Linked DNA regions of Homo sapiens: all the other regions are linked to region 2. Evidence: promoter capture Hi-C in 16 types of primary human blood cells and fetal thymus (Javierre and others, 2016). All regions are on one chromosome and are shown on one strand. The core of a region is centred on a gene start or on the middle of the fragment in contact, and the rest is flanking DNA. Distances in the headings are between cores, read along the strand shown. Region 1 holds the start of IGSF9 (immunoglobulin superfamily member 9). Region 2 holds the start of CADM3-AS1 (CADM3 antisense RNA 1). Region 3 has its middle 22 kb from the start of DUSP23. Region 4 overlaps CFAP45 (cilia and flagella associated protein 45). Region 5 has its middle 29 kb from the start of LINC01133. Region 6 overlaps LOC124904436 (a long non-coding RNA gene). Region 7 has its middle 27 kb from the start of CRP.

Evidence for each region. Contacts are between HindIII fragments. The CHiCAGO score rates a contact against its expected background, and 5 or more counts as called.
Region 1: the fragment with the promoter of IGSF9 here is called in contact with the fragment with the promoter of CADM3-AS1 in region 2 in 3 of 17 cell types (M2 macrophages, megakaryocytes and erythroblasts); the score reaches 6.5 in M2 macrophages.
Region 3: a fragment that was not itself captured here is called in contact with the fragment with the promoter of CADM3-AS1 in region 2 in 3 of 17 cell types (M2 macrophages, M0 macrophages and endothelial precursors); the score reaches 11.9 in M2 macrophages.
Region 4: a contact is called between a fragment that was not itself captured here and the fragment with the promoter of CADM3-AS1 in region 2, in 5 of 17 cell types (erythroblasts, megakaryocytes, M0 macrophages and 2 more). The highest score is 10.4, in erythroblasts.
Region 5: a contact is called between a fragment that was not itself captured here and the fragment with the promoter of CADM3-AS1 in region 2, in 1 of 17 cell types (naive B cells). The highest score is 5.3, in naive B cells.
Region 6: a contact is called between a fragment that was not itself captured here and the fragment with the promoter of CADM3-AS1 in region 2, in 1 of 17 cell types (M2 macrophages). The highest score is 7.5, in M2 macrophages.
Region 7: a fragment that was not itself captured here is called in contact with the fragment with the promoter of CADM3-AS1 in region 2 in 1 of 17 cell types (M2 macrophages); the score reaches 5.4 in M2 macrophages.

What each region holds. Positions count from the first base shown.
Region 1 is chr1:159,944,143-159,947,967 of GRCh38, reverse strand. IGSF9 (immunoglobulin superfamily member 9) reads left to right here and starts at 2,355. Exons shown (of 21, transcript NM_001135050.2): 1 at 2,355-2,395. It overlaps LOC124904438 (a long non-coding RNA gene), which reads right to left. Exons shown (of 3, transcript XR_007066684.1): 2 at 1,516-1,816. RefSeq lists an enhancer at 1,732-2,232 and a silencer at 2,075-2,369. The HindIII fragment of the contact is 10,806 bases long and covers 1,451-3,825 here.
Region 2 is chr1:159,199,829-159,204,061 of GRCh38, reverse strand. CADM3-AS1 (CADM3 antisense RNA 1) reads left to right here and starts at 1,640. Exons shown (of 4, transcript NR_037870.1): 1 at 1,640-1,812; 2 at 2,441-3,250; 3 at 4,203-4,233. CADM3 (cell adhesion molecule 3) reads right to left here. Exons shown (of 9, transcript NM_001127173.3): 8 at 4,186-4,233; 9 at 749-3,258. The coding sequence ends at 3,140. The HindIII fragment of the contact is 9,224 bases long and covers 1-4,233 here.
Region 3 is chr1:159,756,829-159,760,615 of GRCh38, reverse strand. It overlaps the pseudogene RPL27P2. Among named protein-coding and RNA genes, the nearest start is that of DUSP23, 22 kb to the left of the region's middle. The HindIII fragment of the contact is 1,789 bases long and covers 1,629-3,417 here.
Region 4 is chr1:159,892,103-159,896,318 of GRCh38, reverse strand. It overlaps CFAP45 (cilia and flagella associated protein 45), which reads left to right. Exons shown (of 12, transcript NM_012337.3): 2 at 3,014-3,139. It overlaps LOC124904434 (a long non-coding RNA gene), which reads right to left. Exons shown (of 3, transcript XR_007066678.1): 2 at 3,818-3,972; 3 at 3,093-3,174. Among named protein-coding and RNA genes, the nearest start is that of MIR4259, 5.9 kb to the left of the region's middle. The HindIII fragment of the contact is 2,539 bases long and covers 676-3,214 here.
Region 5 is chr1:159,988,651-159,992,641 of GRCh38, reverse strand. No RefSeq gene overlaps it. Among named protein-coding and RNA genes, the nearest start is that of LINC01133, 29 kb to the right of the region's middle. The HindIII fragment of the contact is 2,876 bases long and covers 519-3,394 here.
Region 6 is chr1:160,008,431-160,012,643 of GRCh38, reverse strand. All of the region lies in intron 3 of LOC124904436 (a long non-coding RNA gene), which reads left to right. Among named protein-coding and RNA genes, the nearest start is that of PIGM, 21 kb to the left of the region's middle. The HindIII fragment of the contact is 373 bases long and covers 2,734-3,106 here.
Region 7 is chr1:159,739,449-159,743,469 of GRCh38, reverse strand. No RefSeq gene overlaps it. Among named protein-coding and RNA genes, the nearest start is that of CRP, 27 kb to the right of the region's middle. The HindIII fragment of the contact is 3,809 bases long and covers 62-3,870 here.

The sequences.
Region 1 (3,825 bases), core at 1,106-3,605, 740 kb before region 2:
AATGACTATGAATCAAGGACAACCTAGAGGAAAGTCTTTTGTTTTGAACCTCAGGGACTATTTTTTAAATCAGCTTTCACTCCTGGCACAGTGAGGGAACAAGTTATAGGGCTAGGTTCCTTTTCTTAACAAAAAATCTCCAATATACATATAAATCAGACAAAAAATGGCAATAACAATAAAAGTCACAAAATAAGTTTCCAGAAAAAAAAGGCCATATCATAAACTTTTAAAAATTGAAAACCATTTTAAATGTCATTTAACAGAAAGTTATTTTAATGTCTAAATGAGATTAGTTTATCCTCAAGAAACCACTGGAGACAGCAGTTTAGATCAAAGGTGTGGCCAATTCTAACAGCGGGGAGGGAGATCCTTCCCAATGATTGGTAAAGATCCAAAGACTAAAAAACACTTGGCTCGGCCGGGGGCAGTGGCTCACACCTGTAATCCCAGCATTTTGGGAGGCCGAGGTGGGTGGATCATGAGGTCAGGAGTTCAAGACCAGCCTGGTCAAGATGGTGAAACCCCATCTCTACTAAAAATACAAAAATTAGCCAGGCATGGTGGTGGCCGCCTGTAATCACAGCTGCTTGGGAGGCTGAAGCAGGAGAATCGCTTGAACCCGGGAGGTGGAGGTTGCAGTGAGCCGAGATTGCACCACTGCACTCCAGCCTGGGCGATAGAGTGAGACTCTGTCAAAACAAAAAAACAAACAAACAAAAAACCCGCTTCACTCTTTTACCATTTCTTCTAGCCTTGCTTCCATGCTGCATTCATTAACATGTTTCCATTATAGTCTTATCAATAGATCAGGGTATTATGTTGAAATGCATTGTTGAAAAGCTGCTACTTTGGGACTATTTGCAGGAGGGATGGTGGGAGAGACTGGCCCACTGCTCCTGCCTCTTCCCTTCCATCTCAGTCACCCAAAAGCACTAAAACCTTTACACCTGGAAGAACTGTCCAGCAGGCAGAGCTTACTAAGGATGGAATGGGTACAACAGTAGTGCTGAGCTTCCTGGCCCAGGATGTAATGAGATAGGGGCTTGGATGACTACATGGAGAAATGATGTGCCAGGGATTCTGGGGCCAAGTAGTGCTTAGGCCCATCCTGGAGGTTCTCTCATGATGCTGCAGCAGTGATTCTGTGAGTCTGATGCCTGGTGCACTCAGTTTGAGTCTTAGTACTTCGGATTGGGATGAGATCAGCACGTTGCTTTCATGGAAGGCTTCCAAGGGAGCCAACTGAATGGGAAGGACCTGGACAGGCAATGTTGCTTAAGCCGACCCAGCATCCCTACAGCATCACCAGGCTGAGGAGGTGGAATCTCTGAGGGGCAAGATATGCAAGATATCTTTGTGTCTGAGGGCGAAGCCTCCAAGGGAGTAGGTTTGATGAAGTTTGGGTTGGGTCTCAATCCAGCTCTGCCATAACCTAGTTGGGAAAGCTTGGGCCAAGTTACTTCATCTCCCTGAGCCTCAGTTTTCTCATTAGTCAAAGGGAGCTCTACTTACTTCGCAGGGTTTCTGTGAAGGTTACACAAGAGTTATAAAGCATCTAGTCCAGGGTCTGGCACCCTGCATGGGTCCAGTAAGTGATCTTGTATTTCATTCCTCCCTTTCAATCTCCCGTGTCAGGATATCTGTCGTTTCTCCCCTCTGGGCCTGTTTCTCTGGGTCGTTGGTGCCAGAGCTGCCTTGGGAGCTGACTTGGCAACCCCACGCTCAGAGCACAGCCTTCCTCAGCTGCACACGGTGGGAGGCGCCTGGGCAAGATTTGGGAGCTCGCCAATGCAGACAGGTATTTCCAGTCCTGCTAGAGAAGCAATGGGTGGAGGTAGAAATGGGGATGGGGGAGGAGATCGGATGAGCCCGGGACCTGGGTGGATCCCCTGGGAGGAGGGCGGGGAGTCATGCTCCCCGCCTGGTTCTCCTACCCCCAGGCTCAGATTTCAACCCTCGCTGCCGCCTCTGTGGCGCGCCCGTTCGGGGAGCGGAGAGGGTCGCCCGTAGGTTCCGAAAGAAGGACGGCGTACCAGTAGCCTGGCAAGGGGCCAGCTCCCGCAGCCCTGGAGCGCGAGCCGGACCCTGCTGCCCCTCTTGCTGGCGGCGGGAAGCGGCCCACCGGCCTTTCCACGCTTGGCTGTGCAGAGGTCCACGAGGGGGCGACCTGAGCCCACGTGCAGCCGAGCTCTTCCCTCCTGAAACTACAACTCCCAGGCCGCTCAGGGGTCCCGCCCGCCTCGCCGTGCCTCTGGCGGCTCCAATTGGCCGCCGCGGGAGGGGGATTGGCGGTCTCCAGGGCGACGGGAGGCGCTCGGGGCATCCGAGGCGGGGAGGCGGGTCCGCCCCCTATTGTGTAGCGGCGAGAGTGGAGCCGAGCGGTGCGGAGCAGGTGAGGGAGGGGGCGTACTGGAGGTATAGAAGTGGTGGTGCTGGTAGTGCGGAGTTATGGGGGACAGGAGAAAGCGGGGAGTTCTAGAGAGAAGTGGAATTCGTTGCAGGAGTAGAACTAGGGGAGTTCTGGGGAGTGAAGTGGAATTCTTGGCGGGTGGGTGGGAGTTCCCGGAGAACTGCAGGAGTTCTGGAGGCAATGTGGGGGAGTTCTTGGTGGGTTCTAAGAGAAAGGAGGAGTTCCAGGGGACCAGAGAATGCGAGGGAGAAAGGAATTGTTGGGGGTGGGGTATCAGAATTGTATTGTGGGCTGATGCAGGAGAATCCCAGGGAGGGGAATTATCGGGAGGAGAGGATGGGGAGAAGTGGCTGGGGGGTGGGGAGACCAGAAGGGAGTTCTTTATAGTGCAGGAGACCTGCTGCAATTGGAGATCAGGTGCGAGAAGCTGGAATTGTGGGGGGATTGTGCGTAGTAGCGATAACTGGGAAGGGAGTAATGGGAGGACGAGGGAGTGGTGTGTGGGGAGACTAGAAGGGTGAGGAAATAGTGGAGGCCGGGGGAGTTGGAAAGATATTAAGAGACTGGGAGGAATTCTAGGGATGCCTAGTTACTCAGAGTCTCGGAAAACAACCAGGAGAGAACTAGGGGGTTCCTATATACTTGGAAAAAGGTTTTTCAGGGAAGTGTGGGAGAGCTGCCTGGAGGCAGTGGGAAACAGGGGGCTTGGTTGCTAGTGAATTGCCAGAAGTTAGACATACAGGATCATTAAGTAGAGGCAAGGATCAGACTCTGTGGAGGATGTTTTATAGTCTGTCCTGAACTTTGCGGCCAAGAGTGGGTTGGAGGACTCAGAGCAGAGTCCACTTGGCAGTGCCAGGCCCTGGCATGGACCCTCTGGCTCTCTGAGACTGCCCTAGGATCTGTGGGGCTGTCAGAAGCTCCTACCCTCCATGCCCCAGGGTTAATTTTGTACACTTCAGGGACTCACAGGCTTTTTTTTGGACCATGCCTCTGGGGTTGGGGAAGAAAGAGCTTGACAAACCCTGGCACCCCGAAGATATTGGAGGGGAGTGAGTGGGAGGGATTTGGGTGAGGTCCTTGGGTGGTGGTGCCTGGCAGGGGGAGGGCTGCTTGGCAGTATCGTGAGGAAGTGGCGCCAGCTGCCAGCCCCGGGACCTGTCCAGACCTGGAGGATGCTGCCTGGATCCCCCATACTGGCAGGTGGGGGAGGCAGCTCCTCCTCTCCCAAGTGCCTGACTCACTCACTGCCAAAGCAGTGTAGGGAGACTGAATGGAGAAAGGCCTCGGGTCCTCAGCTTCCAGAGTTTTTCATAGAGGCTGGGGAAATGGGACAAGGGATTGTATCGGGGTGTCCTGGGGACCACTTTCTGAGGCTTAAGCGCCCTGGATTTGCCCTTGACTGGCTCTCT
Region 2 (4,233 bases), core at 391-2,890:
ATGGGACCATTGCCCACAGGGTGATTTCTATTCATATTTCTACTGGGGGACATAAAGTCTCTGGAACTGTTTCATTGGCCAGGCATCTTAGCAATATGTAAAGTTTCTCACTGAGGGGCAGAGCTGGCCAGCAGAGAGAAAGGGCATCTACCCTGCAGGCAGGCCGATTCTCCCAAGCACATTTCACTTTTTTAGTGGCTTCTTCCCCCTCCCTCCCCTCCTCAGCTGTTTCCCCAGGATCGTCACTGTTTCATCACCCCTCTCTGCTTTTATTTCCTCAGCTAGGGAGACATAGTGGGGACTTTGGGAGCGGTGAGCCATGGCGTGTCCAAGTCAGAACAATGAGATAGAAAGGGCTGGTTAGGGGACGCTGTTTCATTTGTCCAAAACAGCATCGGCTGCTTCATCTCCAGTGTTGTTAAGGACCTTCTGTCCCATTCATGTAGGGCTTCCTAGGGGGCCAAGCACCTCAGACCTAAGGTGCAGAAGGATGGGTACCTCGTAGAGATTTCCCCCTTTTCTCCCAAGACACTAGCTCAAGTTTCAGGTTCAACATGAAGGGGCTGGAAAGTGAATTTGGTCTGGTGGTGTCTGGTGATGCTCTGCAGGGTGGGGTTGATGGCATCTCCATCGCCGTCTTAACATTCTCCAGCAATGCCTGGCAGAGGGTGGGGGGAAGCAGTCAGATGCCCCCCAAGACACTCTCTGGAAAGGAAGGGCTTAGCAAAAGGAAGTGAACACACTTCTCTCCCTTGTAGAGTTATATTGTTGCTGTACATAGATATTCTTGAGAGTGGCCTGGCAAGGGACACACCACCTTTTGAGGCACCAGGCACCAGGTGCAAGGGGTATGGGAAGAAGACCCTCACATACACACATCCCAGCAGCAGCAAGAGGACCAGAAAGGAGGCAGCTGAATGACACGGATAATCCAGATATATTGAGGGTGACCCCTCTGAGATTAGCACAGGAGAGTTAGAAAGATTATAAAGATACACGGTCCCCTCCCTGCTCCCTTCCCCCACCCCCCCACCCCTGGACAGACACACACAGCACAACAGCCCCTCTCCCTCCCACCCCCCCGTACAAATATGGCTTCTGTGTAATATGGACAGAGTGGTTCAGCTTGAAGAGGAAAAGTCATTTTCCCAAAAGCGGGTGCTGGGAGACAAGAAGCTCAACAGGCCTGGGGCCCCAGGGCTCTCTTGCTGTTGTAAGAGGAGTAGGCCCCGGCTTAGGTGAGGGGCTGCCTGTGGTGCCCAAGGCCCTAACCAGCGGCTGGAAGATTCACAACTGTATTACCTGAACTGAAGGGGGTGGGCAGGCCTGCTAGATTGCAGCTGCCCCTTTTTGCATGCCCATTGTCAGACCAGGGAGGAAAAGCTGGGGGAGGGTGGGAGCGATGCCAAGGGCATCCTGGATCTGAGGCGGGGCAGTCCAGCCAGGACAGGGAGGACCAGGAACCTCATCTCCACAGCAACCAGCTGGGGCCACGAGAAGGAAGACAGGAAATCAAAAGGAAGGGTGGGGACCCAGCCTTCAACTCACTGGGTACAGACTATGGGAAAAAATAGGTGGTGGTAGGTCTTTCCAGGGTCAACGCCAAGGAGAGGCCTGAGAGGTGCATAGCAAAGGCTGTGGCACTGACTCCATGGCTCAGAGGAGGGAAATCCAGGGAAGGGCTGAATGCTCTGTGTTTAAGGGAGAGATAGAATGGACAGCTGGGCAAACACACACCCGGGGACTCCTTTCTCCAAGACCGATGGGCATTGGGGGTGGCAGAGGAAATACCAGCATGGAACAACATCCCAGGTGAGGTGTGAACCCTGACTAGGAATACCCCATTCCCAAAGCCTCCCCAACATGTCCCACAGCCCTGTCCACTTGCCCAGGACCCCTGGCTCTTAGCCCTCCTCCTCAGTTCCTCGCTCTGCCTCTCACTCACTCACACACATGCACACACACACACACACATGCACACATGCATACACACCACACACATGCACACAGTTCACATTATTCCCTTAGTTTGGGCAGGAAACAGCTCACTGCAGTGAAGCTCCTTTTAGTAGTTTTGTTGTTATGTCTGCCTGGCTGCTGAGGGAGGAAGGATGAAGGGCTGGCGTTGGGACCAGGAAGGGGGCACAGGGTGGCCGGGAAGGGAGAAGTAGTTGCTGAGCAATGCCATGGGAGGAGTGGTTGCCGTGCAACAATCCAGAGTCTTGGGTAAGAGTGAGGGGCCCCTCAGGGGGGGAAGCAGAGGCAGTTCAGGCCCCAGAGCAGTGCCTCTCCCACTGCTGCTGGAGCAAGGAGGGGCAGCCACACTCTGCTATCTCCAAGGGCAGTTCCTATGGAAAGGGCCCGGCTTTGTTCATTTCCGGGGGGAATGGGGTGAGAGTCCACCTCCATCCTTCCTCTCCAAATCTACTCTTCCTTGCAGGGACCCGCGTCCTCCCCAGGTTACAGTCCTGGGTCCCTGCATGGCTGCATGTTGTCTGCAGGCCACATCTCCTCAGGACTCCCGCACTCATCACTTTCCCATTGCTATGGAAGAGAGGTGTCAAGGTGGCACCTGCCTCCCTGTCCGTAGTGCTCAGGTGTGTGGCTACCAGAGGAAAAGCCACTCCCAACCTTTGCCGACAACCATCCCGTTTCTGGGTTCCTGGAGAAGTCTGGGAAGCTGCTCTGTTGTAGAGGCTGAAAGGAGGGCTGGTGAGAGCCCCCAGCTGAAACCAGCCCTGCCCCTTACCCTTCCTCACCCCTCTACCTTCACTCTCCTCCTAACACTCCAGGGTTTTGTTTTTTGTTTGTTTTTTGCTTTTCTCACCCCAGGGCTCCTGCCTCTCCAGCCTGGAGACAGATTTGATTTGGGATTGTTACAAAAATAATAATAACCCAAATGCAGAGAAGCCACGGAAAGGGCTGAGGGCAACCCTCCCCTCCCCCCGCCCTCCTCCCTCCCCATTCCAAACCGAGTACAAAACCGCACCCAAAGCAGACATTCTGTACAGGGGGGTGGGTGGGCTGGGGAGCAAGCGGGAGGGGCGGCCCTGCGGTTGCTCTGTACAAGTCCGGGTTGGTGACGGCCCCAGCAGTCCCCACAGGGCCCCTGGGGGGCGCAGGAAGTGGGCAGGCGCCTCTAGATGAAATATTCCTTCTTGTCGTCCCCTCCTGACTGCCCGCCTTCTGCATTGATGATGGCCGTGTCCGCGTCTGGAGCATCGTCGGAGCCTTTTGCCTCATGTGTCAGGTAGGTTCCTGTGTAGAGACAGAGGCTTCTCCTCTCAGGAGCAGCTTCCCAACCTCTGAGTCCACCCTGCCCACTTTCTCACCCACCCACTCACACACTGCTCAAGTAATTTTTCTCTTGCCAATAGCTCTCTTCTACTCCACCTTACCTAATTCGCATTTTGCTTCCAACATGCCTCACCTGACCACACCCTTCATGAATAATGAATCCTACCCCTAAGTAGAATCTCATCTATAATACAAAGCAAGAAAGAGAAGTGTGTGTGTGTGTGTGTGTGTGTGTGTGTGTGTGTGCTTGCACGCATGCGTGTGTGTGTGTATGCATGCGTGTGCACGCAACTTGGTGACGGGGGATCTGCTATGTCAGCTTCATGAGCAAAGCAATTGAGATCTGGCTTATGTATGACCAGCCTATGGAGTCAGGCCGCTGGCTAGAATTAATAGCAGAGCAGGAAGTCTGAGAGGAAGGAATGTGAGAAGAGGGTAGAGAGAAGGCATGGATATAAGAGAGAAGGTAGAAAAGGGGGAGAGGAAAGAAAGGCAATGAGATCAAAGGAGAAAGAAAATGAGGTTAAACAGACAGAAAGGAAGAAAGCGCAGGAAGCAATGAGATGGAGATGCAGTTTCAGGAGCTCTCTGTCTTGCAGCAGGAGACCTGGAGGTAGAGCAGCATGGGAGCAACCGCTGACTGAGTGGGAAGGTTTGATTTCACTTGGACGATCCCCAAGTGATCAGGCTTTACTGCGGGGTTGGTGGTGCTCAGTTATCACAGGGTTGGCAATGATAGGGTTGGCTCCATTTTTAATTCCCTAAACACTCCAAAGGGCTGACAAGTCTCTGAAGGCCCTTTCCACTGTCTGCTTCTCCTCGTGCCTGCCTCTGATTGGTCTCCCTGCCCCTCCCAAGTTCTGCTGATGCTCTCTTTGTGCCTCTGACCTTTGTGCCGGATCAAGTAGTGGCCAAGGAAGATGAGCATGATGAGCA
Region 3 (3,787 bases), core at 1,274-3,773, 560 kb before region 2:
AAAATACTGGCAAACCGAATCCAGCAGCACATCAAAAAGCTTATCCACCATGATCAAGTGGGCTTCATCCCTGGGATGCAAGGCTGGTTCAATATACACAAATCAATAAATGTAATCCAGCATATAAACAGAACCAAAGACAAAAACCACATGATTATCTCAATAGATGCAGAAAAAGCCTTTGACAAAATTCAACAACCCTTCATGCTAAAAACTCTCAATAAATTAGGTATTGATGGGACGTATTTCAAAATAATAAGAGCTATCTATGACAAACACACAGCCAATATCATACTGAATGGGCAAAAACCGGAAGCATTCCCTTTGAAAACTGGCACAAGACAGGGATGCCCTCTCTCACCACTCCTATTCAACATAGTGTTGGAAGTTCTGGCCAGGGCAATTAGGCAGGAGAAGGAAATAAAGGGTATTCAATTAGGAAAAGAGGAAGTCAAATTGTCCCTGTTTGCAGACGACATGATTGTATATCTAGAAAACCCCATTGTCTCAGCCCAAAATCTCCTTAAGCTGATAAGCAACTTCAGCAAAGTCTCAGGATACAAAATCAATGTACAAAAATCACAAGCATTCTTATACACCAACAACAGACAAACAGAGAGCCAAATCATGAGTGAACTCCCATTCACAATTGCTTCAGAGAGAATAAAATACCTAGGAATCCAACTTACAAGGGATGTGAAGGACCTCTTCAAGGAGAACTACAAACCACTGCTCAAGGAGATAAAAGAGGATACAAACAAATGGAAGAACATTCCATGCTCATGGGTAGGAAGAATCAATATCGTGAAAATGGCCATACTGCCCAAGGTAATTTACAGATTCAATGCCATCCCCATCAAGCTACCAATGCCTTTCTTCACAGAATTGGAAAAAACTACTTTAAAGTTCATATGGAACCAAAAAAGAGCCTGCATTGCCAAGTCAATCCTAAGCCAAAAGAACAAAGCTGGAGGCATCACACTACCTGACTTATTTTTTAAATTTTTAATGACCAAAACAAAACATCTAAAACCACAGCTTTTGGAAGAGCCACTTGTTCTTGCCCAGGTTTTACCTCTCTTTGATTTTGACTTTGGCCTTCCTTTGGGCCTTGTGTTTAAGAGCAGGGTCTCTGAAGACATCCTTGTTGATGACAGTTTTGTCCAAGGGGGTATCCACAGAGTGCCTTGTGGGCATGAGATGATTGTAGTTATAAACTTTCACAAAAGACTTGGTCTTTGACCTCTGGGTGCTCTTCTTGCCCATGGCAGCTGTCACCTTGCAAGGATAACAGTCAATTCCAGCCACCAGAGAACAGCTGACGGGGCATTCTAAGGTGCCATCATCAATGTTCTTCACGATGATGGTTTTGCATCCAGAGTAGCATCCGGTGTAGTGTCTGGCCTGGACCAACACTACTTTCCCAGGTTTTATGAACTTGCCCATTTTGACAGCAACCACCCAGGCCTACCTTCGTCTTATTTAAGGGAAGTGAATCTACCTCCTACTTGGTTGATTTTTAAGGCATATGGACTATCTTTTTTTAGCAACACAGATTTTATGCAGTTCATAGTCTTGTCAAATGTTACAGTTTGGACATCTCTTTTGCCCAATTCCTACCAAAAGCTTAATTAGAAGACTTAGCAGTTCTAATTGACAGCTGAATATATAGTTTTTTTTTCTTTTTAGAGACAAGGTCTTGCTCCGTCACCAGGTTGGAGTGCAGTGACATGATCGTAGCTCACTGTAACCTTGAATTTGTGGGCTCAAGTAATGCTCCCTACACCTCAGCCTCTATTAAGGATATATTGTTCTTTCATTATCCTAGGTAACTGTTGCTCGATAGAACTTTCTGCATTGATGGAAATGTTCTGTAATTGTGTGTCCGTCGTTAATAGTCACTAGCCATGTGTGGCTATTGAGCATTTGAAATGTGGCTGTTAAAACAAAATAATGGTACTGAAAATGTTTTATTTAATTTTAATGAAGTTTAAATAGCCACTCACGCCAGTGGCTTCCATATTGAACAGCACAACTCTGTAATTCTAAATTTTATCCCTGAATCAAGCTGAAGTATTTCTTCTTTGGCTTTCCAAAGAATAGCATTTATTGAATAGCAAATTTCTATTTTTTCCTTAATCATGGTTTTAAAACATATTCTCACTTTCTTGGATCTCACTCCCGCATCAAAAGATGGAGACTAAAATACCCTTCCCTTGGATATAGGTTGGTCTTCGTGGCTTGATTCTAGCAAATAGGATGTGTTAGAAGTGATACTATGTGATTTTTGAGGCTAGCTCATAAAAGGTGCTAAAGTTGGCTTGGTTGTCTCCCTCTCAGCACTTGAGCTTTCATGTAAGAGTTCTAGCTGCTCTAACACTGCCATGCTGGAGTCACATGGAGGGACCTCGAGAGGTATCTGAAGAGGACCAACTGTTCTAGCCTCCAGCTGTTTGAATCTTCCTAACTTAGGCTCCAGGTTACTTCGGACCCAGTCACTTTGTGACTACATTTCTGTAAGAGACTGTAAGTGAGAATTGCTTAGCTTAGCCCCTCTATCCCCAGTAAGATAATAATATACAATGCTGTCACTTTAAGCCACTATTTTGGTGTTGTGCAGCGATAGATAACTGGAACACTCTTGTAAAAGAATACTGCAGGAAATAGTTCTATGAAACTTTCTGGCATATTCATTGTTGGGATTTTTGAGTACAAAGTTTACTACATCAATTTCTTTTGAATTTAGTAACAGGAAAATCTGTATTTTCTTGAGCAATCAATAGACTTTTACTTTAATACATTTTTGCTTTGGTTGCTATGAAGCTCAAAGCTAAATTTATGTCCTACTTCGTAAGTAAATAGGACCATCAATAATTTATTTCTGTGTGTTTGCTTTTTATTTGGCCTTATCTTACTGTTTTTTAAAAATTTACCTTTTTCCTTTTTAAAGACCTTAATACAGTATATATTTTGTCAAGCCATTTCCAAAAGTGAATGCAAATAATATTGGGCTTTTGCTGAACCAGTGTGAGCTGTAAGATCATCCAGTAGATTAGCAATGATGGCTGAGAGAGCTCTGGAATTTTATAACTCTTCAATGACCTTATTTTATAGGAAGACAATAAGGCTCTGAAAACTGAAGTGACTGCTGAAGTATACACAGCTAGTGAGCAGCAAAATCTCAGCCCAGGAGAAGCTGTGTCTTACTCCTCATTCACCCATATAGCACCCATTGGTCAGATACTGATTCTTTATTAACTGTCAGCTCTGGGTCTGGTTACTTGAGGATGGGATGGTGGTACAAAGATAAATAAGAGTCAGCAGAGGAATTGAATCTCCAGATTATGCCTGGTGGGACATAGTACATGTGTTTAAATATAAAGTAATATGTAACATAAAAGCGGCACAAGTGAAGCTTTTTGAATGTTCAGAGGAATGAGAGATCACTTCCAACTGGGCAATCACAAAAGCTTCAGGAAAAAGTGATGTTGAGTTAGGCCCGGAAGGATGGACATGCTTCACACGTGCAGGTATTAGGAGAGATGATGGGGTGAAGCAAGAGAAGATTAGCTGCCGTGAGTTGAATACTGGGAATTTTAGGCCCTGTGGCATTTGGTGGGGATGATATTTTGAGCAGGGGGATTGTGCCACATCTCAAATTACACCAGGCAAGTAGTTGCTTACTATTCTGTTTATGGGATCAACGCTGCCAAGGGCATGCTACCTGCAAATGTGGATGGGAAGGATGAGAGAGAGAGAGAGAGAGAGAGATAGAGAGAGAGAGAGA
Region 4 (4,216 bases), core at 696-3,195, 690 kb before region 2:
TGGTCATCTGTTTTTCTTCCTCTGTTCTGGCTCAGGCAGTCCTTGCTGTGACTTCCTCTTGACCTGGGTACCAAGGGCATAGGAAACAGGAGATGCAGGCTCAGCCCTGGAGGAACCTGCAGTCTGGCGGACACTTCAGCACAAGGGAAAACCTGTTGGAGTCCTTGAAAACAGACAGGAAAACAAATGGAAAACAATAATACTTTCCATCTGTATTCCAAAGCCCTTTCACATACGTTATTATCCACAGTGGAGACCACATACGTGATCTGGAAAACATGGAATGGTGGAGTGACTTGGAGTCAGGCAGTTGTATTCCGGAAAAGTATCCATCTCAATCTGGTCTGCAGTCCTGTCCTTGAGAGGTCACCTTGTTCGGTTTTATTCATTCTTCATCAAATGCACATTGCTATATTGTTCCTACTACATGTGCCAGGCACTGCACCTTTTCCCTTAATTACATACAAAACTCATGATCCAAAGCCATCCACCTTTTCCAGTTATTCCCAATGCTTAGCCTCAATCCCACCTACTGAAGTTTCTATTCATTTCCTCTTATTCTATTTTTGGTGGAAAGGGGAGCCGTAGCTCACCACCTACCATATAATAACCCTTCAGAGGCTGTTATTAGGCATCCTTGGGGCTGCTATATTTACCTTTTAATAAATCCAAGCTTTTCTGCTCTACAGTATTGGGGCTGGCTGACGCTGTAGAGGGAGACTCCCTGTGTAAGCCTTTTGCTGGCTGTGCCGGGCAGTGAGGGAAATGCACATATAGCATTGTTCAATGTACAGCACAGAGACAGCTGGAAAATAATTGTCCAATCGAGTGTGAAAACCTGATACAGGAGTAACAGGTGCTGGGGTGTCTGGTTGGTAATGGCAGATCAGAGAGAGCTTTCAGAACACTGTCCAGGGCTTAGGGACCTGGAAAGCATGGTATATTTCCCTGTCTACCCTGTTCCTTTATCAGCTGCTGATTCCCAGGCTTGGGGAGACCCAATGTGCCTGGCCTATTCCTTCAAGGTAGCCCAGTTTAGAGAGGTGTGGGGCATGTGGGCTCCTCCAAAGTGAGGTTTGAATCAGCTTTATCATAAGCCTGGAGTCATCCAGTAGTCCTTGTAGACACTACCTTTTAGAGATAGACGTCTACTCTTGGGACTGAGATGAAGCTGCCTGTCCTTTGGGAATGGAGGTTGTGTTCGTCAGATTCTTAGTTACAAGCAACAGAGCCAGAATTCCAATTTAAGTAAAAGAGAATGTGTTAAGAGGGTTTTGGAGAGCTCACAAATAGGAACAAAAGAAGTTTCTGCAGCTGGAACCAAGACCAAAATCAAAACCTAGAACTGGTCTGGCAAGGACCCTGATGCACTGTTGCACCCCCAAAACTGCCAATTCCTTACATAGGGTGCCGCTGCTGGTATCGTTATCAGTGTTGCCCAGACGCTGGGTCTGGCTGCCAGTTCTGTTTGGGTCAGAAAGGTTTTCCTTGTTCTGCCTTTTGGTCCACTAGTTCCCTAGTCATTGTCAGTCCAGGGCCATCTCATTGGCTAAGCCTAGGTCCCTTGGCCAGGCTGAGGTGAATATTTGATGTTTTCAGCTTCTGTAGTTGGAGAAGAGCACTATCTCCCACAACTCATTAGATGGGGAATTTGCCAAAATAGGAAGTTAGTAGGGGGTTAAAAAATGACTAAGGCACACTAAAAGGGTCTTGGGAGAGAAACAGCCAAATAGTGGGTATTATGAACTGGTTTGCTTGATTATAGCTAGTAATCATTTATCATTCACCCACTGCCTCAAGTTTATTGGGCATCAACCACATGCCAAGCAGTGGGTGAGGCACTTTTCCATCCTTTATATCCTGTGGTCCCACCATAACCTTGTAAGATTGTGGAGACACGAAGGAGGTCAAACAGTAGCGTCATTTGTGAGAAAGACTTGAAGCACAAGCTGAAAAGATTGGAGGCAAAGGGGACACTGTGCGTGTCTCAGGGGGCAAGCCCAAGTTGCCCCACAAGAGATTGTCCTCTTGGGAAACTGGTACTAGGCAGATAATGAGAAACTGTTGCTTCTCTCCTCCTGCCATTCCTGCTTCCTTTATCCTTACTTCCATACTATGTGGCCGACTTGGCCTTCAGCTTCAGGGACTACAGAAATGCTCTTAAAAAAACCCCACAAAAAACAAAACAGTTTTGTTTTTAATTGACACATAATGATTGTACACATTTATGGGGTATAGTGTGATGTTTTGATACATGTATATACATTGTGTAATGATTGAATCAGGGTAGTTAGCATATCCATTACCTCAAACACTTGTCATTTCTTTGCAGTGAGATCACTCAAAATTCTCTCTTCTAGCTAGTTTGAAATATACAATGTAAATTAATATACATTGTATACATGTATATTTATATATATTATTGTATACATGTATATTAATATACATTTATATATAGTAATATACATTATTGTTAACTCTAGTCATTCTATTGCGCTATCAAATACTAGACCTTGCCATCTCATTTAATCTTATAACATTTATATTTCTCAAAATCCTCTCCTAGATATTGTGTATCTCTTTTGAGATATACAGTACATTATTATTAACTATAGTGGCCTTTCTGTGCAATAGAGCACCAGAACTTATTCCTCCTATCTAACTGTAACTGCGCACTCACTGACCAACCTCTCCCCATGCCCCTCCCCTTCCTCTCTTCAGCCTCTGGTAACCACCATTCTACTCTGTACTTCTATGAGATCAACTGTTTTACACAAATGCTGCTTTATGCAGAGCTCTTTTTTTTGCAGAGACCCTTCCCTGCTCTGTGGGGATGCCCTCCATCTGTTGCTCCTTGTCCCCTATGGTTCAGAGTTTACACAGCCGCTTTCCCTAACTGTTTCTTTTTCACATGCCCACCCACTCCCCCAGCATGGGCTGGTGAATTGTTGACTTCCCAGGGTCTGGATGCCACTCAGTACTGATGACCCAAACTTTCTGCCTCTTCCTGCAGCCACTAAGCACAGCTGGCATCCTGAGCTCCTCTTCTGCCGCTTCCAACAGGTCAAGGAATAAGGCTCGCTATCGGACCAAAGCCGTGAGCTCTGAGGTGGATGAGAGCCTCTTTGGAGATATCAAGGTAATCCTCAACAAGTCCTTTCAAGTTGATGCCACCTGCAGGCAGAGGCCCAAAAATGTAGCTCAGGGCAAAGCTTCTGCTGAGTAACCTTGCTCTCGTAGGTAACTCTCAGACTGAAGACAAAGGGGAATTCTGAGACCTGAGCTGCAGAGCTTTGGGATCTAGTGGGGCCTATGTAAACAGGGACACCTAGCTTCTTCCACCCTAGAATCTCTCATGTCTTCACAGTGTTTAAAATCTGTTATAATGTCAAAAGGGAGGCTCAGCTGCAGAGAGTGCAATAGTTGCTCAGTTGAGCTCCATGATGGAAACATTGCAGGGCTGATGGGCTAAGCTTGCAGACAATAGCAACATCTTCCCCGCTCCATCCAAGGATAATAGCATCAGAGTACAACACAAAACCATCCTCCTTTCCCAGTTGCTCAACTAAAACAATTACTTAGCTTTGGGAAACGAGCAGGTCTTTATTTGCAAGTGTTATCTAGACCAAGAGGTGGACAACTCCTTTAGTCTAGATAAAGAGAGCTAGATAGTAGAGCTTTGACTGATTTTGGTACATATGGAGTTTAGTAGGTAAGAAGGAAGAGAGGGAAGGAGAAAAAGAGAATATGACATGGAGAGAAGGGCAGTGAGAGATTAAGAGAAGGGGAAAAGAGAAAGAGAGACACTAGTAGTGACCTGAATGCCTCTGCCAGTGGGGAAGGTGGGGAGAGGAGTGTTGATGTCTGTCCCTGCTCTTCAACATCTTCATTGTGAATTGAAGAGGACTCTCCAGAGGGATTGAGATAGGCTTCTTAATCCATTTAGAAGACTCTCACTCTGCAGCAGTTTTCCTGTTGGTAAGGGAAAGGATCAACAGATGCATTTATTTTTTATTATTTTTTTAAAGATAGGGTTTCACTCCTGTCACCCAGGCTGGAGCTGGAGTGCAATGGTACAGTCTCGGCTCACTGCCACCTCCACTTCCCAGGCTCAAGTGATTCTCCTGCCTCAGCCTCCCAAGTAGCTGGGACTACAGGTGCACACCACTGCACCTGGCTAATTTTTGTATTTTTTGTAAAGACAGGGTTTCATCAT
Region 5 (3,991 bases), core at 707-3,206, 790 kb before region 2:
TTGGTTGGTGCAGGAAAATCCTGGTGGGGAGCAGGGAGGAGACACAGGGGTAGAAATGTGGCCCATAGAGGAGGAATTATCCAGCCATCTGCCTCTGTAGGCACTGGGATGTGGTGGGAATATCTGGGGAGTAAAAGCATGCCTCAGAGGGGTTCCACTCCTGAGGTGGCAGAGGGGAGTTATTTATATACAACTCCTGACAGTCACCAGTTGAAGGTTACTGTGTGTGGCGGTGGGTGGTGTCAGGGTGTTAATTCCCTGGCACTTATAGCCTGTCTCAGGCACAGGCAGAAAGGCTGCTTACAGTCTCAGAAAAGGCTGGTAGGCAAAGGAATGCAGACACTGGCATTGGAATTCTTTTGGAAGACACTGAAGTGATGTGGCTCTGAGCATATGGGAGAAGCATGACAGCTTCTGCTATGTACACCTGCTGGGGCTGATTGATCAATTCTGTTCCTTCACAGGTTTCTCATGAGTTTCATCTCTTAACTTTATTACTTTATTCTGTTTCTAAAGCTTAATTTAACATCCCTCTTTTTGACATCTTGAGTTATATGCTTACTTCATATATTCTCATTCTTTCTTATTTGATAATTAAAGCAATTCAGGTTAGTTATGGGGAATCATTGAGAAACCACTTGTAAAAGTGCTTAGCACAGTGTCTGGCAGACAGTAATTGCTCAACAAATGTTCATTACCATTTTCCTCAAACCCTTTGAAGTCACTTCTGTTAAAAGATAAACTTTAGAGAAATTAACATTAGCAGAGCTTAACTGGGCAAATAATGACTTGTGAATCAGGCAGCTTCCCAAACTAGAATAGGATCAGAGTGACTATGGCGCTGCTGTGTGGTGGAGCAATATTTACGAACAGGAAAAGAAAAGTGACTTACAGGAAACAGAAGTGAGGCACAGAAACAGCTGGATTGGTTACAGCTCAGGCATTTAGCTTATTTGAACACAGTTTGAATGGTTGGCAGCCTGTGATTGGCCCAAACTTGATTGGCACAAAAGTAGGCTACAGTCTGTTTATACATCCAGGTAGGTTACAGTTCACGATGTACTGAGAAGCCTTTAGACCGAACTTAAAATAAGTAAGTCTGCAGCTTTAGGCTAAAGTTGATTTTACACTTCTGATTACAGATGTGGATGTCTTCTCTTGATGTTGATATGTGGTATTTTCATTATCATTATTGCCCAAGAGTTCTGTAAATTGCAGTTTTCGTTTCCTGTTTGATCCGTGGATTATTTTGAAGAGTGTTTTCAAACCAAGTAGTTGGACGATTTTTGTTTACACATTTTTTCAATTTCTGGTTTTACTGTATTGTGGTATGCAATGTAGTCATGAAATTTCTGGGCTTGAAATTTATTTAAGGTTTTTAGTGGTTTAATATGTAATCAATTTTAAAAAATTGTTCCATAGACCCTGAAAAAGATTTTTTTTGTTTTTTTTTTCAATATTTACAAAGTGGATCCCAGCAATGACTTTTTTCTGACATTCTACATCTTTTGTTTGTTTACTTGATCTGTTAAGAACTGATGAAATCTCCACAGCAATTGTGTTTTGGTCATTTTCCTCTTATTCAGAAACTAAAGATTTATGACAAACACATCTTCATTGCAGATCTTGATTTTTACTACTTATCCTTTATTTTAATAGTTTAGGACTTTAATTCTTTTTGTATACTATATCTTTTTCTATCTTTTTATTTTTTATTTTTATTTATTTATTTTTGTTTTAGATGTGCCTCTTGTGGACAGTATATGGTTAGATCAAATATGATGATCTTTGTCATTTCATAGAAAAATATAACTTATTTAGATATACTGTGACAACCAATATGTTTGACTTTCTGATGAACTTGTCTGGATTCATTGGAATATATAATAGGAAAAAAAATTTGTTCTTTGTCCTTGGCGCAAAGCTCCTGAAACCTTTGAAATTTCCTGAGCAATAGGAGCATCTTTTGTTATTCATTATGCACCCCTTTCAGCAATCTGTGTTTGTGCTAATGAGGTGACTCTTGGCAGGGTCCCCTAGATCACTTTAAGATGGGAGCTAGTTCTGATCAAGTTCTGATAAAGCTCAGAAGTTTCAGCTCCACCCCCTCCTCATATGGGGAAGGGAGAGGGGCTGGAGATTGAATTTAGTCACCAATGACCAATGATTCCATCAATCATCCCTATGTAATAAAAGCTCCATAAAAACCTTTAAACAATGAGGTTCTGAGTTGGTGAACACGTTCACATACTGGGAGGATGGTGTATCCCAACTCCATGGGGACAGAAGCCCTGTGCTCCGGACCCTCCCGGACCTCATCTTCTGGGCCTGTTCCTTTGGCTCTTCATTTGTATCCTTTATAATAAATCGGTAAATGTAAGTAAAGTGGCCCCTGAGTTCTATGAGTCATTCTAGCAAATTATTGAACCCTGGCAAGGGGTGGGGTGTGGGAAGCCTGACTTTGTAGCCAAGTCAGATGCAAATGTGGGTAGCCTGGAGATCTGATGCTTGTGACTGGCATCAGAAGTGAGGGCAATCCTATGGGACTGTGCCCTTAAGCCTGTGGAGTCTGCCCGCCACTGAGTCTCAGAGTTGAACTGAATTATAGGATACTCAGTTGTTGTAGGAGAATTGGATAATAGGTTGGTGTAGGAAAAAAACACACACTTGGCAAAGATGAAAATCTGTTTTTAGTGTGTGTGTTTGCTAATATTTTAAAAAATATATTTGCTAGTTAGACTATAGGGATTGGACCAGACCAGTTCAGAGATGATTCATGTTGCTTGGGAACAAGCCCTTTATAGCTGCTGCTGCTTTTTGTTTGCAGTAGCTTCTCATGCCCGGGCCCTTCTGCCTGTTTCTCATGAAGGCTGCTGTGCTGCAGAGCCTGTCCAGACCATCCCATGTGGCCTGCTCCTGTGTCCAGCGCTTGTCTCTCAGAGTCTCACTGTGTTGCCCAGGTTGGTCCTTCCTGGGATCAAGGGATCCTCCTGCCTCAGGCTCCCAAATTTCTGGGATTACAGGCACGAACCACTGTGCCTGGTGTATTCCTACAGTATTGTAAAATAACATAGTCCATAGAAATCATGCCCTGTACTGCACTGAAAGAACACTTAGAATTTTCTTTTGCCTAATTCCAAGTCTCAGGTCATTTTAGTGACACAATTTTGCTGTTTTTCGCTCATTATGAATTATTCTTTCTGAGATGGATGGAGATAGAAGATCTGGCTTGAGTCCTTTTGTTGCCATGTTTTACATAGAGGGCCCAAAGAAGCATTCATATTCTTTTGCAGCTACCTCCTGAAAGAGGATTTTCATTTCTCTTGTCAATGGACTATGGGCAGGTTCAATATGGTCTTGGCTAAACTAGATGTCTTAAAGTGTAAAAGAAGCTTCTCCAAAATTTATCACAAATGTCTTATTAATTTAAAAATGCAAACACAAAATCTCAAATAAGGAATTACATTATATGCTTGTTTAACTTAAGCAAACCCAACTATGTATTGAGCAAGGGAACACTGTACTATTATTATTATTATTATTATTATTTTTTGAGATGGAGTCTCTATTGCCCAGGCTGGAGTGCAGTGGCACAATGTTGGCTCACTGCAACCTCTGCCTCCCAGGTTCAAGTGACTTTCCTGCCTCAGCCTCCCAAGTAGCTGGGATTACAGGCATGCACCACCACATCTGGCTAATTTTTGTATTTTTAGTAGAGATGGGGTTTCACCACGTTGGCCAGGCTGGTCTCAAACTCCTGACCTCAAGTGGGAGGTCCACCTTGGCCTCCCAAAGTGCTGGGATTACAGGCATGTGCCAGTGTGCCCGGTGAGCAAGAGAACACTTTAAATAGTAAGAGAATCTCCACCTGCTATTCCATTCAATGAATATACACCACAGAATGAGAGTGAGAAGGAGAGGCAAATCGGCTTTGCCTAAATCTCAGTTATCTTGTGTGATATCTTAGTATGCTGAGTGTGATTCTAATGTT
Region 6 (4,213 bases), core at 1,671-4,170, 810 kb before region 2:
TGTTGTCTGCCTAATCCCTGAAGGCATTTCAGGATGCTATTAAGTTTTGTATATTTATTTTGCAATTGGACACATTACACGAATTCTCTAATTAGTACTAACTGTTTTGTGGCTAATTTTCTTGGGGTTTCAAGTAATTATATCATCATGCAAAAAATTATAATTTTATCTTCTCTTTCCAAAATATATACTTTCTAATTCTTTCTTCTCGCCTTATTACAGTTGCCTAAAAATTTCTCACATTTTGAATAATCGTTATGACTGTTAATTTTAACTTTAATTTTTAACATGAGGAGATTGAGAGATGCCTAAATGGCTGGTTTGTTTCTGGGTGTGTCTGTTTCCAGGAGAGATTGGTGGGTGAGTCAGTGGACTGAGAGAAGAAGACTTGCCCTCGATGGGGGCAGGCATTGTCCAACTGGTTGGGGGCCTGGTTGGAACAAACAGGAGAAAGACAGCAGATTCTCTGTCTCTGCTGTCTTTCCTCTGGAGTGGGAGGCTTTTCCTCCTCTTGCCCTTGGACATCAGGCTCCAGGTTCTTTGGCTTTTGGACTCTGGGACTTGCACCAGTGACCTCCCAGGGCTCTCAGGCCTTTGGCCCCAGACTGGAGGCTGCACGGTCAGCTTCCCTGGTTCTGAGTTCCCTGGTTCTCTTTAGCTTACAGGTGGCTGGTCGTGGGACTTTGCCTCTGTGGTCATGTGAGCAGCCAATTCCCTCATAAATCCCCTCTCATATCCTACTGGCTCTGTTTCTCTGAAGAACCTTGACTAACACAAGGCTCATAATAGCAGGCATCTTTATACGGTACCTAATTTTAATGGGAATGCCCCTTGTGCTTGACTTTTAGGTATGAAGTAAGCATTTTTTTATTGTGTCAAGGAAGTATACTTTTTATAGTTCTCTGATGTTTTGATTTTGTATTAATATCAGTAATATATGTGGAATTTCATCAGACCAAATGACTCTTCAATATCTATTGATATTATCCTGTGACTTCTCTAAATTTAATACATTATAATAAGAGATTTTTCTAAGGGTTTATATGCTTCACATAGTTTAAGCCATGTATGTATTTTTATTATGAATCCTACCAATGTCTAACACTACTTAATAAACCCTAATAATATCCTTCTTAATCTAATTTGCTAGAATAAATCCAGATAAATATTATTTTATTAAGTTTGTCTGGCACTCCTCATATTGGCCCCATTATTTCTATATGTGGTCATTTTCCTCCATTTTCTCATCCTTACAATGGGAGGCTTATGCCTGTCCAGCATGGGAATGGGTAAGTGTTCTCTCAGAGATTATGCATCCCTGTGAAAGCCTTTCAGTCTTGGCACAGGAAATAAGTTTATATTTTGTTGACCTTAACCACCTTAGAAGTGTCTTGGTGTATGAGAAGTAAGAAGAGAGGTGGCCATAGGTAGGCAGCCTCATCTCTGGCTGAAGGGCTCCTCCTGGGATTGTCACAGCAGCTGAAGCCCACCGGGGCAGGCAGCAGTACCCCTCCAGCCAGCATGGCGGCCCTCCCCAAGAGCAAACCTCATCAGAACCTCTGCTCCATTCTCCATGCCTTCTGTGCTGTGAACAAGTCTTGAGCATCCCTGGGACCACCCGGCCCTCCTTGAGAGCTCCAGCACCTGTTTCCTTCTCAAGGTGGTGGTGGAGTTTGAATTTGACACTGCCCTCAACAAAATGACAGTCTTATGATCGTCACTCATCTCTGGTCCCGTCACACCAAGGAGTGGAGTGTTTGTCCTCTTCTTTTGCATAGGTCATTTCAGCTGCAAGTTACGAAGGGAGAGTGTTAAATGCATTGACTCAGATTGTCATGCTGAATTGGAAACACTGGCTATTCCACTTGTATTGACTCTCAAGTTGAAAAGTGGGCCTTTTGTGCATTCAGCATGCCTCCCAGAGCCTAGCAAGGAGGGTAGAGATGGATAGGCAGCTTCTTTTTTCCAATCCATACTTGAGAAAATTTCAGCTGCATCAGCAGGTTACAAGGGAAACTACCTGAATGCCACCTGGGATTTATAGCCACCTGGGGGATAAGCATTTGTTTCTAATGTGGAATAAGATAATCTTTTCCTCCTAGCCTCTGGACAATAGAAAGGGAGTCTGACCATTTGCCAAACACATTGTGGAAGGGGAAAGTACGTAGAACTGGAGATTGGACAATGTCCTTAATACTCTTCCTTTACAGAAATTCTGTGACTAGTGTTTTATTTGACTAGAGATGGAGGGCTCCATCTCTCTAATCTTGAAGTCCTGAGATATGTGCCTGCTTGTTCAATGTCACCTAAGGCTTTTTAGTCAGTGTTGAAGGATGGGGCTGTCTTATGATCACACAGATATGTTTTATTGTCTTAAGGGCCTGACAAATCAGGGATACCTTCTAGTTAAATTCCTCTTTAAGGGCCTGAAGTCTCCTTAGTACTCAGCATGCAGTTCAGATGTTTCCCTTTCTCCTGGGAAACAAATAGGATTCTCAAATTGTGACTTTGTTAATTGTTCTTAAGCAAATTGCATTAAAATTTATATGCACCTTTCCAAGAGAAGATAAATTACACATGTTAAAGGAAGGAGAAGAAAAGACACAGTGATTATGAAATTCCTCAGAGAAAGGTTCTTTGTTCTTTGCGTGCCTCATAATCTATCTGTCAGAGCAGACCTGTCCATTCAGCAGGTCTAAGATGGCAGTGAGTTATGATTGGGGGACTCAAGCTTATCATCCTCATTCTCGGGAATATAATTGAAAGGTCAGAATACTTCCCCTTTGAGAGTTATCCAGCTTTGCCCAGGGGCTTGGCTGTGGTCCATGGGTCTTTAACTTGAGGACAGGGGGAAGGTAGGGTAGGGAACGTGGTCTTAGATTTCTCAGATATTTGAAAATAACTTTATCTTCGGTCAAAATCTGGAAACTGTACACATTACAATCAAGTGTTTCTTGGACTTTCTAGGGTAGAGGAAAAATGGGACAATGAAATAACTCTTTTATTCTTTTATGTCTGTTGGAGTCTTGAAACTCTCATCACTTTGCCCCGATATCATTCAGTCGGGCCCAACCTGAGCAAGAGAACATCTCTGATTTGATAAGCTTCTAAAGTAGTGTACATATTGCATTTTGACCACAATAAGACAGATTATGCAGAGTGCTATGAGACAGAGACAGGCCTAAAGAACTTCACTTTCTTTTTCTTTTCTTTTTTTTCTAACATAAAAGGCTGGGCAATTATTCAGGCATTGCCCATGCCACTCCTGACCTTGTGCAATTGTCCAGAAAGTCCCTGAGCCCAGAGCTGGGTGCAGGCTGTGCCTACAGCAAAGTCCTTGGGGGTAACCGGTAGCCTGTGGGGGAGGGGTACTGTTATGACCTCCTTTTACAACTTTCGCAAGGGCAGGCAATCTGGATCAGTGGAGTTAGCTAATCATAACTTCCTCAGTTATTTTATAACTCTGTGCCTCAGTTTCCTCTTCTCTAAAATGATGATAAAAATAGAATGTACTTTTTAGAGATGTGAAAATTAAATGAGGTAAAACTGTTAGGAGAGTTTCAGGGCTAGAGTAAGTGCTTAATCAATCATTATTTATGACATTATTACCTTATTTGGATCATTGAGGAGTAAATTTCTCTCTATTCTTGAATAGAAATGCTTAATAATCAAACAATTTGGTTTCTAAGTGAAGATGAGCTTTTAGTGGGAAATTTACAGATATCTTATGCCTCCCCTTCTTGCCTATACAAAGCCTGTATTCTTGGTTGGGACACCAAGAGCCTTATAAACTTTGCTTAAGCACAACAGAGAATATTCACAAAGTCTCTTAATCTCATCCAATTCCCATGAGAAGGAACACTGTTACATAGTGATGACAGTGGATCTCAACTGCATCATGAATTCTTCCCAAGAGACTCCTGAAACATTTATTTTATGGTAAAGATGCCTTCCAGCAAGATTGACTATAAAAAGAATTTTCTCTCTCTCATTGACTTGTTTTATAAAATCAGAGATATGATCTCATGGAAGAAAATCTTCCAATTGATTTGACAAAAATGCTTAGTTAAAGAATGAGTAGATGATGTGTTTGTTTTATTCCACAACTAAATTGTAAGTTCTTAAAGGGAAGGGAGCTAGATTCCTATTTTTGTAGATTACAAAGATTCAGTACATCGGACTGACCTGGTGGCTCATGCCTGTAATCCTAGCT
Region 7 (4,021 bases), core at 717-3,216, 540 kb before region 2:
AAACTTGGGAAAAATCAGCGAAGAAAACAAAAAAAACAAAAATCTCTCTTTCCATAAAGCTTATATTCTAGCATAAGAAAAACACAATGAATAATAAACGTAATATAAAATTATATTATGTGGTCTGTAAAAGGGGATAAATGCTCTGGAGAAATAAAAACAAAACAACTAGAGCAGGATTTGGGAATGAAGAGTGTGAAAAGAAGACTGACTTTTTTTTTCCTTTTAAAATAAGGTGATCCCCAACAATAGACAAGCAGAGAGCCAAATCATGAGTGAACTACCATTCACAATTGCTACAAAGAGAATAAAATATCTAGGAATAAAACTTATAACAGATGTGAAGAACCTCTTCAAGGAGAACAACAAACCACTGCTCAAGGAAATAAGAGAGGACACAAACAAATGGAAAAACTTCCCATGCTCATGGATAGGAAGAATCAATATTGTGAAAATGGCCATACTGCCCAACGTAATTTATAGATTCGATGCTATTCCCATCAGGCTACCAGTGACTTTCTTCGCAGAATTAGAAAAAAACTACTTTAAATTTCATATGGAACCAAAAAAGAGCCCATATAGCCAAGACAGTCCTATGCAAAAAGAACAAAGCTGGAGGCATCATGCTACCTGACTTCAAATTATACTACAAGGCTACAGTAACCAAAACAGCATGGTACTGGCACCAAAACAGAGATATAGACCAAGGGAAAGAGAACAGAGACCTCAGAAATAACACCACACATCTACAACTATCTGATCTTTGACAAATCTGACAAAAACAAGCAATGGGTAAAGGATTCCCTATTTAATAAATAGTACTGGGAAAACTGGCTAGCCATATGCAGAAAACTGAAATTGGATCTCTTCCTTATACCTTTTACAAAAAATAATTCAAGATGGATTAAAGACTTAAATGTAAAGCTCAAAACCATAAAAATCCTAGAAGAAAACCTAGGTAATACCATTCAGGACATCGGGATGGGCAAAGACTTCATGACTAAAATACCGAAAGCAATTGCAACAAAAGCCAAAATTGACAAATGGGATCTAATCAAACTAAAGATCTTCTGCACAACAAAATAAACTATCATCAGAGTAAATAGGCAACCTACAGAATGGGAGAAAATTTTTGCAAGCTACCCATCTGACAAAGGTCTAATATCCAGAATCTACAAAGAACTTAAACAAATTTACAAGAAAAAAACAAACAACCCCATCAAAAAGTGGGCGAAGGATATGAACAGACACTTCTCAAAAGAAGTCATTTATGCCACCAACAAACATATGAATAAAAGCTCATCATTGCTGGTCATTAGAGAAATGCACATCAAAACCACAATGAGATACCATCTCATGCCAGTTAGAATGGCGATTATTAAAAAGTCAGGAAACAACAGATGCTGGAGAGGATGTGGAGAAATAGAAACACTTTTACACTATTGGTGGGACTGTAAATTAGTTCAACCATTGTGGAAGACAGTGTGGCGATTCCTCAATGATCTAGAACCAGAAATACCATTTGACCCAGCAACCCCATTACTGGGTATATACCTGAAGGATTATAAATCATTCTACTATAAAGACACATGCACATGTATGTTTACTGTAGCACTATTTACAATAGCAAAGGCTTGGAGCCAACCCAAATGCTCATCAATGATAGACTGGATAAAGAAAATGTAACTGATATACACCATGGAATACTATACAGTCATAAAAAAGAATGAGTTCATGTCCTTTGCAGGGACATGGATGAAGCTGGAAGTCATCATTCTCATCAAACTAACACAGGAACAGAAAACCAAACACTGCATGTTCTCATTCAGAACAATGAGAACACATGGACACAGCAAGGGGAATATCACACACTGGGGCCTGTCGGGGGGTGGGGGGCAAGGGGAGGGAGAGCATTAGGACAAATACCTAATGCGTGTGGGGCTTAAAACCTAGATGATGGGTTGACAGGTGCAGCAAACCACCATGGCACATGTATACCTATGTAACAAACCTGCAGGTTCTGCACAAGTATCCCAGAACTTAAAGTAAAATTAAAAAAAGTAAGGTGGTCCTTGTAGGCCCCACTGAAACAATGACATTTGGGTAAAACTTGATGGAGATGAGGGAGTTGACCAGGTAGATTTCTTGGGGAAGAACATTCCAGGCAGGGGGAATAGCTAGTGCAAAGGCCTTAAGGTGGGAGTGTGCCTGATGGGTTTGAGGAAAAGCAAGAAAATCTGTGTCACTAGAGCAGATTACGGGGAAAATCCAGAGAAATGGGGCACAAGATGACAATAGAGGAAAGTCATGGAGGGAATTGAAGGCCACTGTAGAAGACTTTGGCTGAGTGACATGGAAGTCATTGAAGGTAATTATTTTTTCCCCTAAGAATAATACAAAGAACTTTCTGTTTTATGAAGCATTTAAGGATAAGTTGCCAATGTGATACCCTATTACCTGTGCTAAGGTTTGAATGTATGTGTCCCCCCCAAATTCATATGTTGGCATCTAAGCTGCCATGTGATAGTATTAAGGGGTTGGGCTTTTAGGAGGTGATTAAGTCATAAGGGCTCCATCCTCAGGAATGAGATTACTGACCTTATAAAAGGGGTCAAGAGAATTATCTAGGCCTGTTCCCTCTTCCATTTCTGCTGCCATGTGAGGACACCGTGTTTGGGGCACCATCTTGGAGGTAGAGACTGGGCCCTCACCAGATACTAAACCTTCTGCCACCTTGATCTTGTACTTCCTTCCCAGCCTCTAGAGCTGAGATAAATACATTTCTATTATTTATAAATTACCTAGTTTGTGGTATTTCCATTCCAACAGGAATGGATACCCAGACTGCTCATGGCACTGCGTGTCTAAGACACCGTTAAACACTTTAATGTATAATTTCTACAAGCAAGGATATTTTCCTTTACAAGTACATAACAACAATCAAAATAAAAAAATCAGCACCAATATATTAGTACCATCTTATCCCCAGACCCTCTGCAAATTCACTAATTCTTCCAAATATGTCCTTTTTAAAGCAAAAGTACCCAATATAGATCACACATTGCATTTAGTTATCATGTCTCTTTAGACCCCTTTATTCTGAAAGAGTTCTTCAAATTGTCTTAATGTTCATGACATTGGCACTTCTGCAGATTACAGGCCAATTGCTTTGGAGAATGTTCCTCTTTTGGAGTTTGTTGGGTGCTCCCTTGTGATTAGAATCAGGTCAGTTATTTTTTGGCAGTAATATCACAGAATAGTTGCATTTTTCTCCTCATTACATCTAGTCAGTGGTACACAATTTGAATCTGTCCCATTATTATAAATGAATGCATGTCTGGATGCTTGCTGCTTGCAGAATCCAATTAACAAGAGTGAGGTCTGGAAGAAGGAAAGTGGTTTTATTAACCAAAACTAGTACTGGGGAGGTGGCCAGATTCCCAACCAAAGCAACCACTTTGAACTACTGGGGAGAAGGCAAGGTTTCAAAAAGAAGGGACTTAACAGGGGAGACATGCAGGAGTTGTGCTGAGCTCAGGTCTGTGTGTCTTGTTTCGATGGCTATGTTGGATTTCAGTCCACCTGGAGCGTGAGCTGGCATCATCTCAACAATGGCCATGTTGTTGACTAGTTGCCTTGAGTTAATCGCTGGAATTCTGCAGCTGGATTTCCAGGCTTTGTCTGTCTCAAGATTAGCCCCTGGAACTTCTAAGTAAGCATATAATTAGATACAAGCATACAGTTAGATAAATGTGCATGGTGTAAGAGTGTATGGTGAGAAAGGGAGCAACCTGGTGTTTTAAAGAAAGTACAGTTCAAAGCTGTGTGTTAAGACTAAGGAGAAGAAAAACAAGGTTTCTGCTGAAAGCTTCAAGGTTGCATCTTGCAACCTTGAAAAAAGACTAAGGAGAAGAAAAACAAGGTTTCTGCTGTAAGCTTCAAGGTTGCATCTTGCAACCTTGAAAAAAAAAGTTTTTAAAATGCATTTTGAAGTTAAGCTGCCTGGTTGTGTTATTGACAA